4 separate regions of the Homo sapiens genome follow, and all the other regions are linked to region 4. The links are contacts of gene promoters, found by promoter capture Hi-C in blood cells and fetal thymus (Javierre and others, 2016). All regions are on one chromosome and are shown on one strand. Each heading gives the region's core, a stretch centred on a gene start or on the middle of the fragment in contact. The rest is flanking DNA. Distances are from core to core; before and after follow the strand shown. Region 1 overlaps SLMAP (sarcolemma associated protein). Region 2 holds the start of ARL6IP5 (ARF like GTPase 6 interacting protein 5). Region 3 has its middle 1.9 kb from the start of RPP14. Region 4 holds the start of PSMD6-AS1 (PSMD6 antisense RNA 1).

Region 1 (3,119 bases), core at 538-3,037, 6.3 Mb after region 4:
CCGCGCCCGGCTAATTTTTTGTATTTTTAGTAGAGACGGGGTTTCACCTTGTTAGCCAGGATGGTCTCGATCTCCTGACCTCATGATCCACCCGCCTCGGCCTCCCAAAGTGCTGGGATTACAGGCGTGAGCCACCGCGCCCGGCCTTCTTCCAACTTTTAATGAGCCTCCCATAATGGACAATGCAGAATGCAACAGTCACCACAAAGTGAAAGTCACCCAAAGCACATATTACCCCAATTGTCGACCGCCCAGGTAAACTGCCAATTTAGACAAAGTTATCAACTACATCAGTTTCAATTTTAAAAATTTCTTCTGGCCAAGCACAGTGGCTCATGCCTGTAATCCTAGCACTTTGGGAGGCCGAGGCAAGTGGATCACCTGAGGTCAGGAGTTTGAGACCAGCCTGGCCAACATGGTGAAACCCTGTCTCCACTAAAAATACAAAAATTAGCCAGGCATGGTGATGAATGCCTGTAATCTCAGCTACTTGAGAAGCTGAGGTAGGAGAATCTCTTGAATCCAGAAGGTATAGGTTGCAGTGAGCTGAGATCGCACCACTGCACTCCAGCCTGGGTGACAGAGCCAGACTCCGTCTCAAAAAAACAAAAAACAAAAACAAAAACAAAATTTATTCTATATATGCCATCACATTAAAGAAAATAATTTCTCATCACCTTCCTAAGACTCCATAGCACTATAGCAAATTGCACAGTGTTGTCTAAATAGTTCCCTCTTCCCCACTAAACACCCTCTCTGCTGAGTATTGGGTGCTTAGTAAGAGCCAGGGACAGGGTGCTAAGTGATTTATATAATTACCTCAATTCTCAAAACAATAATAGGTACCATTATCATCCCCAGATGTTTAAAAAAAAAAAAAAACCTGGCCGGGCGCGGTGGCTCATGCCTGTAATCCCAGCACTTTGGGAGGCTGAGGTGGGTGGATCACCTGAGGTTGGGAGTTCAAGACCAGCCTGACCAACATGGAGAAACCCTGTCTCTACTAAAAACTCAAAATTAGCCACGCGTGGTGGCGCATGCCTGTAGTCCCAGCTACTCGGGAAGCTGAGGCAGGAGAATCACTTGAACCCAGGAGGGAGAGGATGTGGTGAGCCAAGATCGCGCCATTGCACTCCAGCCTGGGCAACAAGAACGAAACTCCTTCTCTGAAGGGATTCTTTTTTTTTTTTTAAGAGACAGGGTCTTGCTTTGATACCCAGGCTGGAGTGCAGTGGCATAATCACAGCACTGCAACCTCAAACTCCTGGGCTCAAGCAACCCTCGTGCCTCAGCATCCCGAGTAGGTGGGACTACAGACACTGCAAATTTCATACGAGAACTATTTGGTCGCACTGTGGGTTTTCTTTGGAACTGTATCCCTCACAGTGTCTGGCACATAATAGATGCTCAATTAAAACCTACTATCTGTCCAAACCAAAACTTTAAATAGTTAATTCCTAAAACAATTCAATGACATGGTAAGATCTGACAGAGCATCCGCTATAACTAGATTAAGTGGTATAATAATCAATAATTACATCTATATCTAAAGTAGTGGTCTCATAGCCTGCGTGTTATTTTAGCTAATAAAGCAGGAGGAAAAAAGTGAAAATGGTAGAAATAAGCCATATCTACCATTCAAAGATAAGTTTTTCTGAAGAACTAATTTCATGGCCGGGTGTGGTGGCTTATGCCTGTAATTCCAGCACTTTGGGAGGCCGAGGAGGGTGGATCACTTGAGGTCAGGCGTTCAAGACCACCCTGGCCAACATGGTGAAACCCAGTATCTACGAAGAATATAAAAATTAGCTGGGCATGGTGGCATGCGCCTGTGATCCCAGCTACTCAGGAGGCTAAGACACAAGAATCGCTTGAACCCAGGAGGCAGACGTTGCAGTGAGCTGAGGTTGCGCCACTGCACTCTAGCCTGGCCACAGAGCGAGACTCCATCTCAAAGAAAAAAAACAAATATTAACATGTCATCTCAATTCATGAAACAGTCACTACTGACCTATTCTTAGTTATCTCAAAATAACCTATTGTGAGAGTTTTAGTACAGCCATGGAAAGCACTGGGCATGAAATCAGTATTTTTCAAATAAGTAAAACAAAAAATGGGAGTCCCCTTCGAGTGTTTCATCAAAGAAAGTGCATTCGCAGAGTATGTACTGTGAGCCAACCTGTTGTCTGATTAGTTTAGACCTGTTGCCCAAGAACATAAAATGGTGAAAATGTAAAAGCTGGTTGAGTTAAGGCACTACTTAGTAGTAAACTGATGTTTGAATTCAACTGCTGGAAAAATGAGTTCTATGAATATTCATTTTAAAGAATTATGAGGGCCAGGTGCAGTGGCTCACGCCTGTAATCCCAGCACTTTGGGAGGTTGAGGCAGGTGGATCAACTGAGGTCAGGAGTTCAAGACCGCCTGGCCAACATGGTGAAACCCTGTCTCTACTAAAAATACAAAATTAACCAGGCATGGTGGCGTGTGCCTGTAATACCAGCTACTTTGGAGGCTGAGGCAGGAGAATCACTTGAACCCGGGAGGCAGAGGTTGCAGTGATCTGAGATAGCGCCACTGCACTCCAGCCTGGGTGACAGGAGCAAAAATCTGTCTCAAAAAAAAAAAAAAAGGATTACGAGTAATCTATGAAGTATTTTAGGCACCCTAACTTCAGCTTGCGAGGAGCGAGTGAAGGGTCTGTTCCACAGGTAAATGAGGATCTGGTGTTAAACAGAAAAGTTAACATACTCTTCAGTTCTCATCCTACACGTAAAGTATAGATATTATGCAGCACACAGCACTTGGACAATCTTTTCCTCCTTTCTTTAAAAAATAATTTACAAAATAATTCCTTAAATCAGTAGCTGCCGAAGTATCATTTTTTTCTCTTCCTTTTGAGGCTCAGGTTTCTTTCATTTCAAAACATATTCTTGAAGACTTAAGTTCTTCCTTTAAGAAAGATTTAATTATTTAACTCAGAAAGAGGGGCAAAAAGTCAGGAGGTGAAACCTGAGACAGTCCTATTAGTCTTACATAACTTAAAGTTGGAACTGATTCAGTAGCTCAGCTAAAAACCTGAGGTTTAGGCACAAAGATGAGCTCTTTAGTATACTCTC
Region 2 (3,538 bases), core at 1-2,500, 5.1 Mb before region 4:
TTTCTCCCAAGCCAGCTTGCTGCTTCTTCCCTCTACGTCTGCCCTGAAATAGAAATGTCAGACATTTAAGTGCAAGTGAGTCCTTTATAAAGTCTGAGGGTGGCTTTTTCTTTAAAGATGTGTAGGAGATAATCAGCAAGATTGAGAATATCACCACCCATCCTGCATAAGCGAGAGAAGCATTTCTTAAAGGGTGAACTAGAAGGAAAGGTGGTTTCTAGGAAAGCAGGTGTACATGCAGTCTCAACACAGGATACTTTGTTAAGTATCAGGTATTGAAAAGGCCTTCTGATACATTGAAACCTCAGGCTAGGAAGCGAAGACAGAGAAAGTGACCACGCCTGGCCACTGCTGGAAGAAAATGCCAGAAGGCCATCTTCCCACAGTCATGGCAGCCTTTACCCCACAATGGGAGATGCGCCACCAGGAGACACCCCCCCTTTTGATCCCAAGCTCAGCTTTACTGTACAGTGTGGCAGGCATTAGGCAGAGAAAGCAGCAAAGTGCGTCGCCACTTGGTTGCCCTTTTTACACTAGCCCGGGTCCACACCCTGCCGCCCCAGCCAGCTCCAGGGTAGGGTTACACCACTTTCCTTTTTCTTCTTATTTTTAAAAGACGAGGGCGCTACAAATATCTTTCCAGCAAGAGCCCGATCCTGGCACGCGGGCGGGGGCAGGGGGGTGGGGGAACTCTCATTTTTCTTCCCTGCGGCTGGCAAATTTTCCCCGTCCTCTTTCCCCTAGGGCCCCCCTCAAGTCTCAGCCCTTGGTGCAGAAAATGGGGCCCCAGGTTACTGCGGCCTCGCCCTGCAAACAAGTTTCCACTGGCTTGGCCGCTTGCAGAATTGCCAGGGCAGGCGCTGAGCGTGGTCAGAGAGCGTCTCTACATCCCGGGATCTTGCACCCCGAGGCCCCTCCGTGCTCGCCCCGGATCGGTGTCCCGGGTAGGGGGACCCCACTTACCCCACAATGGAAATCATCATGGCAGCCACCACCAGGTAGTTGGTCTGGTAATAGAGCAGGTTGCTCACTACGCGGTTGTTCCATTTGGAAATGTCCCTGAAGTCCGGCCGGGCAAAGCGATCGGAACCCGGGAAGAAATCGTCCCAGGCGCGGAGTGGGGCGATATTAACGTCCATGTTCTCAGCTTTGCGTTCTTCGCCTCCAGAATCTGGCGGCGGCGGCGGCGGCAACCGATCAGCTGAGCTGAGTTGGAGAGTTGACAGCGGCTCCGTCTCGGTCGGCTTTGCGGTTGGCAGACAGCAGAGCAAAGGAAATTGGGAGTGGGCGGGCGTGTTTGCTCCTCTTTACTTCTTCATTGGCTCTTGGTTGGGTACAGGAAAACAGGAACCTCCAGACAGAACAAGGGACTGAGTGCAGAATAGAGACGAAATGACAGAAAGCAACTAGCGGAAATCCCCTGTCTGAAGGGAGGTGGCAATGCCTTCTCTAGCAGCAGAGAAGCTGCCTCCTTCGAAATACCTTTTTTGAAGGTTTACCTAGGAGTGTGTTCTCTGACTTAGAGAAAAATTTTGGCAGCTGTGCAGATGCCAATCTAAGTGAAATGAAATGGAAGGCGACTACAGTGTTAATGGAGAATGAGCTGCTTTTGAAAACTAAGTCTTACTAACCTCTACACATCTGAATGCAATTCCCATGTTTTCTCTGTTTCACCATGAGTCACTATGTGTGAAATCAGATTGGCAAAACGGGAAAGAAGGTCATGTAGAACAGAAGGGCTGGTCTGTTTTTTTCACTTCTCTTCTTTGTTCTCCACCTCTGTTCTCTCTAGGCTAAATTGTTGGACTGCTATGCCATTCTGATAAAGTAGGCACTCTGGCCACTTCAGTCCTGAGCTGGGCATGTTGCTTACATTTTAAAGCAAACAGTTGTCTGCAGTGAACTAGTTGTTCTGCATCCAGCATTTTCTGGGCAGAAATATGCATTCCACTTCAAAAGTTTTCTTAGTTTTATTGCAATATTTGGTGACAGCTTTCACTGAGGGACCACAATATATTCATAGATAACGTGATGTTTTGTATCCCAGCCCAAAGACCTGGCAAAAGAAGTATTCGTTGTCAATTCTCTTCTAAGCTTCCAAGGGTCATCTTTTTTCAGTTAAGGGGCTGATTGGTACAATGCATGAGAAAAAAAGTAGTTTGTTTAATTGTATAATGTAATAGGTAGAATTCTAAGGTGAAGATTTCTAAGATAACAGAGTCTCTAAGCCCCTAAGTGGCTTAGACAAGGTGAATTCACTCTACTCAGATCACCAATTTTTGAAAACTTGGAAAGTAATGAAATATACTAATGCAAAGTCTAGAAAACATAATTTAATTTTCCTTATTAATTCAGAAGACAGTTAAGGAGCTTACAGCGACTCTAAGAAATTACTACTACTACTGTTGTTTAGGAAAATTTGGTGATTGCATGGAATTAGTGCTAAGATATATCTTATGTGCTGCTTTTTGAATAAAGTTTAAAATGTGAAAATATTCCTGAGTGCTCATGTTTTCTTGATTCTGGAAAAATGGGATGGTGTGAAGTCAGAGAAAGCAAAATTAGAGTCGCAGCTCCTTCCTCTCTGGCAGGTGACTTTGGAGAAACTACTTAATCTCTCCCAGCCTCGGTGTCTTCATGTGTAAAGTGGGGATAATGGAACATCTGCCATATAGACGAGGCTAAGTGAAGGAATGTATAGGAAATGCTTAGTGTATAATAAAGGTTCACAGTTATATGTTACTATTATTGTTATTAGCAATAGGATAGCCCACGATTCTTGTTTGCTATTAATAGTGCTTTAATCTGATTTGTTTTCTATGCTTTCATTATAAACATCTACTAACTTTTCTCTACCTTGCTCCAACTTTATTGTTGTGGATGTATCTGGGTAGGGGGAAAAGGTTGAGAATATTCAGTACAATGCCAGCAAGTATTTCGAGTTCTTTTGAGGCTCTGTGAAAGCACTGTGGGTTTTTTTTCTTTTCTTTTCTTTTTTTTTTTAAAGAGGAGAAAAATGTAATCCTGCTCTGCCTTCAAAACTTCTGCAATCCAGTGGAAACACTAGTTAAATATGAGACAGTAAGAGGAGTGCTAAATAGAGATGCACTGAGCCTCAGTGCTCAGTTACAGGAAGTCAGAGGGTGTGGAGGAATTCCCCAGGGCTTCAGAATGTCAAGAGGCAGCACTGTGGGCAAGCTGAGTAAATCATCTTGGTCAAGATGAGAGTGGGAACTCCAGTGGGGCCCCACACTGTTGGTGAGATTTATGAGTATTAGAAGCTGTAACTAAGAACTTTATCTTCCAACTGCTCAGAACTGCATGACCAAAAGCTGTCAAGAGTGTATTAGTAACAATATGATTACTCCTTGATCACAGGCAATTGATACCCAAGAAAGAATTAAACCTCTTTAGAGGTTTAAACATAAATAAATAAATTCTGAAAAGACAGAGAAAGCTGTTTATAGCATGATTCCCTTCTGTCTCCCTCCCAAAATGTTAACCCTGTCTCTCTCTTTGGGGTATGGGAGATTTTTTT
Region 3 (3,209 bases), core at 427-2,926, 5.7 Mb after region 4:
ACTGCTACCTCCGCCTCCAGGGCTCAAGCGATTCTCCCACCTCAGCCTCCTGAGTAGCTAGGACTACAGGTATGCTCCACCATGCCTGGCTAATTTTTGTATTTTTAGTAGAGACGGGGTTTCACCATGTTGGCCAGGCTGGTCTCGAACTCCTCGCCTCAAGTGATCTGCCCACCTTGGCCTCCCAAAGTGCTGGGATTACAGACGTGAGCAACTGCGCCCGAGTCATTCTACACATTTTTTTCATTATATTATAATTTATTTATTGAGATGGAGTCTCGCTCTGTCGCCCAGGCTGGAGTGCAGTGGCGCCATCTTGGCTCACTGCACCCTCCGCCTCCCTTCAAGTGATTCTTCTGCCTCAGCCTCCCAAGTAGCTGGGACTACAGGCATGCACCACCATGCCCAGCTAATTTTTGTATTTTTAGTCGAGACGAGGTTTCACCATGTTGGCCAGCATGGTCTCAATCTCTTGACCTCGTGATCTGTCCACCTCGGCCTCCCAAAGTGTTGGGATTACAGGCGTGAGCCACCGCGCCTGGCCTAATTTTTGTATTTTTAGTAGAGACAGGGTTTCACTATGTTAGCCAAGCAGGTCTCAAACTCCTGACTTCAGGCAATCCACCCACCTCGCCTCCCAAAGTGTTGGGATTACAGACGTGAGCCACCGCGCCCAGCCTACAAAATTATATCTAGCATCTCCTCTCCTCAAGATCTCCTATGTCAAGCACTCCCCAAAGATAGGACCCACTCTCAGTGTCCCTTGTGACTCCCAGCACATAGTAGGTGTTCTATCTAGGCCGTCCTGGAAAGACCCACAAAGTAAAGACTTACTTTGTGCTAGGCACTATGCAAAATATTTTACATATGTCATCTCATGGAACCCTCACACAATCCTGAGATGGCTATTACTATGATCATCACCATTTTAGAGGTAGAAACTGAGGCACAGGCCAGGCGCAGTGGCTCATGCCTGTAATTCCAGCACTTTGGGAGGCTGAGGCGGGCAGATCACTTGAGGCCAGGAATTCGAGACCAGCCTGGCCAGCATGGTGAGACCCCCATCTCTACTGAAAATACAAAAATTAGCTGGGCACGGTGGTGCACACCTGTAATCCCAGTTACTCGGGAGGCTGAAGCAGGAGAATTGCTTGAACCTGGGAGGTAGAGGTTGCAGTAAGCCGAGATCACACCACTGCACTCTAGCCTGGCAACAGGAAAAGAAACTGAGGCACAGAGAGGCTAAGTTATTTGCTCAAGATCACAGTTATAAGCAGTGGCATGGGCTGTCTGATTCTAGCCAGTGCTCTCCATACTGCACTGTATTACCACCAATTGAGGGGCTGCAGTGGGAAGGGAAACTTTAGTGTAACCCCCATGAGGATGGGGCCTTGTCTGTGTTTCTCACCACTGCATCCCAGTTCCTGGTACCCAATGGTGACCCAACATCTATTTACTGAAGGCATTTGTTCATAAATGGATGTGCTGGTTTTGCTTGGGTTGGGGGGCAAAGGGTTGCCTTGCACAGGACAGTTGAGTCAGCGGGGATCTCCTTCCTCAATTATTTTCTCAAAATCCCACTGTGTTGTTTCCAGAAGCTTCAGTCCTCAACCTTGGCCATGCTCTCCAGTTCTGTGGTTCCTACTTTCTTCTTCCTTCAGAGGAGACAGGGCTTGTTCCAGATGTGGGAAGAGGTGGAGAAAGCAAACACAGACCCCACAGACCCAAGTATTATCTTTCTCAAAAAAGCTTGATTTCAGAAGCTGCCAGAACTTGCTTCAAATGCATCCTCTGCCACTTACCTACCTCCCTCATCTGTCACATGGAGAGATTATTAGCATCTACCTCACAGAGTTGAGGGAAAAAGAGTTGATGGTATAAAGTGTCTGGCACCCCAGGAAACCCTCAGTAATGGGAGAGGGTTCCTGTAAGCCAGCTGCCTGGCAAATGTATCCTGCCAGGTGGCCCAGGAAAACCAGAGCAATTCCTGTATTTTGAACTTCAAGGAACAATAGATAATTTTCACCCTGCTGCAACAAACCCTGAAAATGAAGTGTCTTCCCAGTTGCCTGAATTCTCTCATGCTGTCTTATTAATTCAGAGCGGAGGATAAAAGAGATGCCTTTGAATGATAAAGACAAAAAACTTGTTTTTTGGCTGGGTGTTGTGGCTCAGGCCTGTAATCCAGCACTTTAGGAGGCCGAGGTGGGCAGAACACCTGAGGTCAGGAGTTCAAGACCAGCCTGGCCAACATGGCGAAACCCTGTCTCTACTAAAAATACAAAAATTAGCTGGGTGTGATGGTGCGCACCTGTAATCCCAGCTACTCGGGAGGCTGAGGCAGGAGAATTGCTTGAACCCAGGAGGCAGAGGTTGCAGTAAGCTGAGATCACGCCACTGCACTCTAGCCGAGATGACAGAGCGAGACTCTGCCAACAAACAAAACAAAACAAAAAACAAAAAAAAACTTTTGTTTTTCAACTAAATTTTATATTAAAAAATCGTTTTTGGACAGTGTCTCACTGTCACCCAGACTGTAGTACAATAATGTGATCATGGGTCACTGTAGCCTCAACCTCCCAGGCTCAACCGATCCTCCCACCCCAGCCTCCCAAGTAGCTGGGACTACAGGTGCATGCCACCATGGCCAGCTAATTTTTAATTTTTTTGTAGAAACAGGGTCTCACCATGTTGCTCAGGCTGGTCTTGAACTCCTAGGCTCAAGCGATCCTTCTGCGTTGGCCTCCCAAAATGCTGGGATTACAGGTGTGAGGCACTGCACCATGCCTAAATTTTATCTTCTGAATAGGTACTGTAGGCTTACAGCATACATTTCAAATGACATAAAGGGATAGATATTAAAAAGTGAGTCTCCCTTCCACCTCTTCCCCTGTCAGCCTCTCCCCTCTCCAGGAGCAACAACTAGTATGAGTTTCTTAAGTGTCCCCTGAAAAATATGATATGGGGGCTTTTACCTCTTGACGATGTATCTAAAATTGCTCCAAATCAAAACACACAAGGCTGCCTCAGTCTTTTTTTCTTTTTTTTTTTGGAGACAGGGTCTTACTCTGTGGTCCAGGCTGGAGTACAGTGGTGCAAACATAGGTCACTGCAGCCTCAAACTCCTGGGCTCAAGTGATCCTCCTGCCTCAGCCTCCAGAGGAGCTGGGACTACAGGCATGTGTCACCACACCTGGCTAATTTTTTTG
Region 4 (3,329 bases), core at 164-2,663:
TGTACAATTTTTTACTTGTTTACATTGGTTCCCTCAATCTTAACGGGGAGGGGAGAGGTTTTTTTCCTCAGTATTATCAAAACATTCGTATCCTGTTGCCTCTGCCTTCCTCATGTCATGTCTGCCCCTTGCATTAACAGATGGGAAGATGAGTTGTAGTGAGGCTAAGTGATTTGTTAAAGGTCATTAGACCAGTTGTTATCAAAAGTTGTCTTCTGTTACTTCTTTGTAGACCACACTGCAGCTACGGTAATGACTCTTAGATCTGATATTTACAGTTGGTCATATTCCCTCTGATAATTCCTTCCAGTTTTTAGGTTGCTGCTGCAATTCTGGTCAGATTGGTTGTTAAATGTGGGACTTTTAGTACTTGCATCAGTGATTAAACAAATAAATACTTAATGAGCCATTCATTACTATATGTTTGGTATTGTTTTACAGCTCCCTTTTCACACTTTCATTGTAGTAGTAGGGAAGAGATGGCAAGGAAGCAAATAAATATAAAACGTAATTTCACATATAGAAATGAACCTATGGAGATGAGAAAATGCTATCCTTACGTACGGCATGCTTAAGGAGGTGAGGTTTGCTCTGAGATTTGAATTGAGAGGAGTCAGCCATATGGAGTCCTTCTGCGTGCAGAAAAGGGAATAGAAAAGGCTAAGGCTTTGAGCCAGGAATAAGCTTGGATGTTGTAGGAACAGAAAATGTCAGGGTGGCTCCAGCATAGTTGGAGTGGTAGGAGATTTTGAGGATAATATATGGAGAGTTAGGTAGGTAATGATTTGTGTAGGGCCTTGTAGGTCATGGGATGGAGCTTGAGTTTTAAGTAAGTTTGATAGGGAGCCATTGGAAGATTTAGAGCCCAAGTTACATGGTCCTATGCAGTGTCTTTATATAAGAAATAGAGTAAGGTGGCAGAGAGGACCAGTTGTGCTGTTTAGTAGCTCTTAGAGGAGATGTTACCGTGGCGTGGACGAGGGTGGTGAGAGTAGAGTTGGGTAGGAGACATACTCAATATGGGATGTCCAGATGGCATCTAGATCAGTGGCTCCCACATGTAGGTGTTTTTAAATGTTGATGATGGTGTTTTCAATGGTCTGCAGTGGAAACTTTAAATGAAGATGCATTTCTTTTAAATAAGACCATTCTCTTTCTAGTATTTTTTAAATTTCGAACATCCATAAAATTGTAAAGAAAGAATTGTACAGTACATTTTAACATATTTGCTTGTTACAATCTATACATTTTATGTTTTTTAACCACTTCAAAGTAAGTTTCAGACACCAACACATTTTTTAAATGATCCCTACCATTTTTTAAATGATCCCTACCAAAATGGAAGGCTGGTATCCCAAGGTTTTGTTCCATTTCTCAATTCTAGTCTGTGAAATTGAAGTCTGATGACCACTCTTAAGAGGGCTGTTCATTAGGGTGCGGGCTGGGCATTATGAGTGTGTTTTTCATGAGTCAGTGGAAGGAGGGGCTTGTTGTGAGCAGTGCATGAGAAAAACGGCTTGGCTTTGCTTCTTTTTCCAGCTCTGTGGCCTTGGTCAGGTTACGTCTCTTCAGTATCGTAACTGTAATGTGGAGATAAAGCCTTCATTAGTTAGGGGCACACACCGCAGTATTCCTTAAGTCATCTTGATGACAAGTGAATGCAAGGCAGCTGGTACCTTTCAGGTAGTAGTTGAATTCAGGTAGTATTTGTTCAGTTTTTTTTTTTTCCCTTCATGTTCTAAGACCAGCTTGAGAGGCAAAGGTTGTACCACTGAGCTCTAGTTGTTGTTACCTAAAAAGGCCTTGTTTTAAATTTCTGTGATACCTAAGAATTTCAAATCTGGGTTGTCATGGATTCTTTATTCTTTTTTTCTCCCTTAAAAAGTTACATTTTAGATGAAATCCCCTTTTTTAAAATGGGCAAAGCAATAATTCTACATCATTTCTCCCCTTCCCTTCCACTTGTTTAGACTAAGATATGTTAGAGAGGGAAAGGGTCGTTGTTTTAGTAAATACTATTGCTGTTGACATGTTAATACTATTGCTGTTGACATGTTTACTGATGGGCTGTGTTCCATAATTTTGTTTTAGGTCTTTTGTTTGAAACAGTTTACTGTTTTTATCAGTTTTGGTCCCTAATTTTTCCTAACCTACAGTTTTTCTCTGAGTACATATGGTTTCATTGTTTGATCTACTTTCTATCTATCTGAATATGAACTTCTAGGATCATGTTTATTCTAGTAGATGATGACTTAAAGCCTGCAGTATAGGAGGGACAACGTCAACTACTGCATGTGCAATAACAAGCTTGAAGGGAAGCTAAATGTTTGTTACAAATTTAAGACAGTATTTTAATGCCGTTTGCATTTTTCTAAGAATTTTCTATAAAGCTAATTCTGTTATTTTTTGTCTCTAAATTAGGGAACTGTCCAGGTTTATTGCTGCCGGGAGACTACACTGCAAAATAGATAAAGTGAATGAAATAGTAGAAACCAACAGGTACTCTCATTTCTCAGAATAAGGGGCATTCCTAAATTTTAAAAGTAGGTCAACTATTGTCATGGAATAATGTGACTGGTAAATAATTCATTTTTTCTTGAATTTATTTATAGACCTGATAGCAAGAACTGGCAGTACCAAGAAACTATCAAGAAAGGAGATCTGCTACTAAACAGAGTTCAAAAACTTTCCAGAGTAATTAATATGTAAAGCCATGTAACTAACAAAGGATTTGCTTTAGAGATAATTATTTGGAATTTTTATAGCTTACTTCACAATGTGCCCAGGTCAGCTGTATAAAATAAATACTGCATTGTTGTTTCTTTCCATTTATTTTTTTCTTAAACACATAGGCCTTCTAGAATCGGGTCCACTTATGTTAAAATAATGTCACTTGAATTATTCATTAATGAAAATCTGGTTTATAGGGTAAGGTTGCAGCTGGGTTCAGCTAGGTTCAGCTCCTGACTGCCTCATCAGTAAAATACGTCAGTAAAATACGGATGTTGACACAGCCCATTATCGCTTACCTTTAAATCTCTTACCTGTAAGCTTCCCGATTTTAGAAAGAAGAGTAGTGGCCTAAAATTAAACAAACAGTGTCTCCCACTTTTAGTATACAAAAGATAGAAGATAAAGAAAATGTGTAATAAGCTTTCCCTCAGAAACAAGTAACCATATAAGGCAGGAAGTTACTCTTTTTTAGGAAGCTGACATAACCTGGATTACAGAATCTACCAAGGCTGATCTCAGTTTTCTAAAACCTTATATGTAAGTATTTATTAGCAAACTGAATCTTTTTTCCAAAAGTAGGACCATAGTAATAATAG

Evidence for each region. Contacts are between HindIII fragments. The CHiCAGO score rates a contact against its expected background, and 5 or more counts as called.
Region 1: a contact is called between a fragment that was not itself captured here and the fragment with the promoter of PSMD6-AS1 in region 4, in 1 of 17 cell types (total CD8 T cells). The highest score is 6.1, in total CD8 T cells.
Region 2: the fragment with the promoter of ARL6IP5 here is called in contact with the fragment with the promoter of PSMD6-AS1 in region 4 in 3 of 17 cell types (naive CD8 T cells, total B cells and total CD4 T cells); the score reaches 11.9 in naive CD8 T cells.
Region 3: a fragment that was not itself captured here is called in contact with the fragment with the promoter of PSMD6-AS1 in region 4 in 1 of 17 cell types (total CD4 T cells); the score reaches 7.8 in total CD4 T cells.

Annotation. Positions count from the first base shown.
Region 1 is chr3:57,758,793-57,761,911 of GRCh38, reverse strand. All of the region lies in intron 2 of SLMAP (sarcolemma associated protein), which reads right to left. Among named protein-coding and RNA genes, the nearest start is that of SLMAP, 4.0 kb to the right of the region's middle. The HindIII fragment of the contact is 8,010 bases long and covers 1-3,119 here.
Region 2 is chr3:69,082,649-69,086,186 of GRCh38, reverse strand. ARL6IP5 (ARF like GTPase 6 interacting protein 5) reads right to left here and starts at 1,250. Exons shown (of 3, transcript NM_006407.4): 1 at 964-1,250. The coding sequence starts at 1,139. RefSeq lists enhancers at 1,170-1,479, 3,087-3,246. The HindIII fragment of the contact is 15,418 bases long and covers 1-2,096 here.
Region 3 is chr3:58,302,757-58,305,965 of GRCh38, reverse strand. No RefSeq gene overlaps it. Among named protein-coding and RNA genes, the nearest start is that of RPP14, 1.9 kb to the left of the region's middle. The HindIII fragment of the contact is 151 bases long and covers 1,601-1,751 here.
Region 4 is chr3:64,010,048-64,013,376 of GRCh38, reverse strand. It overlaps PSMD6-AS1 (PSMD6 antisense RNA 1), which reads right to left and starts at 1,413. Exons shown (of 2, transcript NR_189168.1): 1 at 1,335-1,413. It overlaps PSMD6 (proteasome 26S subunit, non-ATPase 6), which reads left to right. Exons shown (of 8, transcript NM_014814.3): 7 at 2,422-2,499; 8 at 2,613-2,826. The coding sequence ends at 2,709. PSMD6-AS2 (PSMD6 antisense RNA 2) reads right to left here. Exons shown (of 3, transcript NR_038286.1): 3 at 1,134-1,580. The HindIII fragment of the contact is 1,623 bases long and covers 687-2,309 here.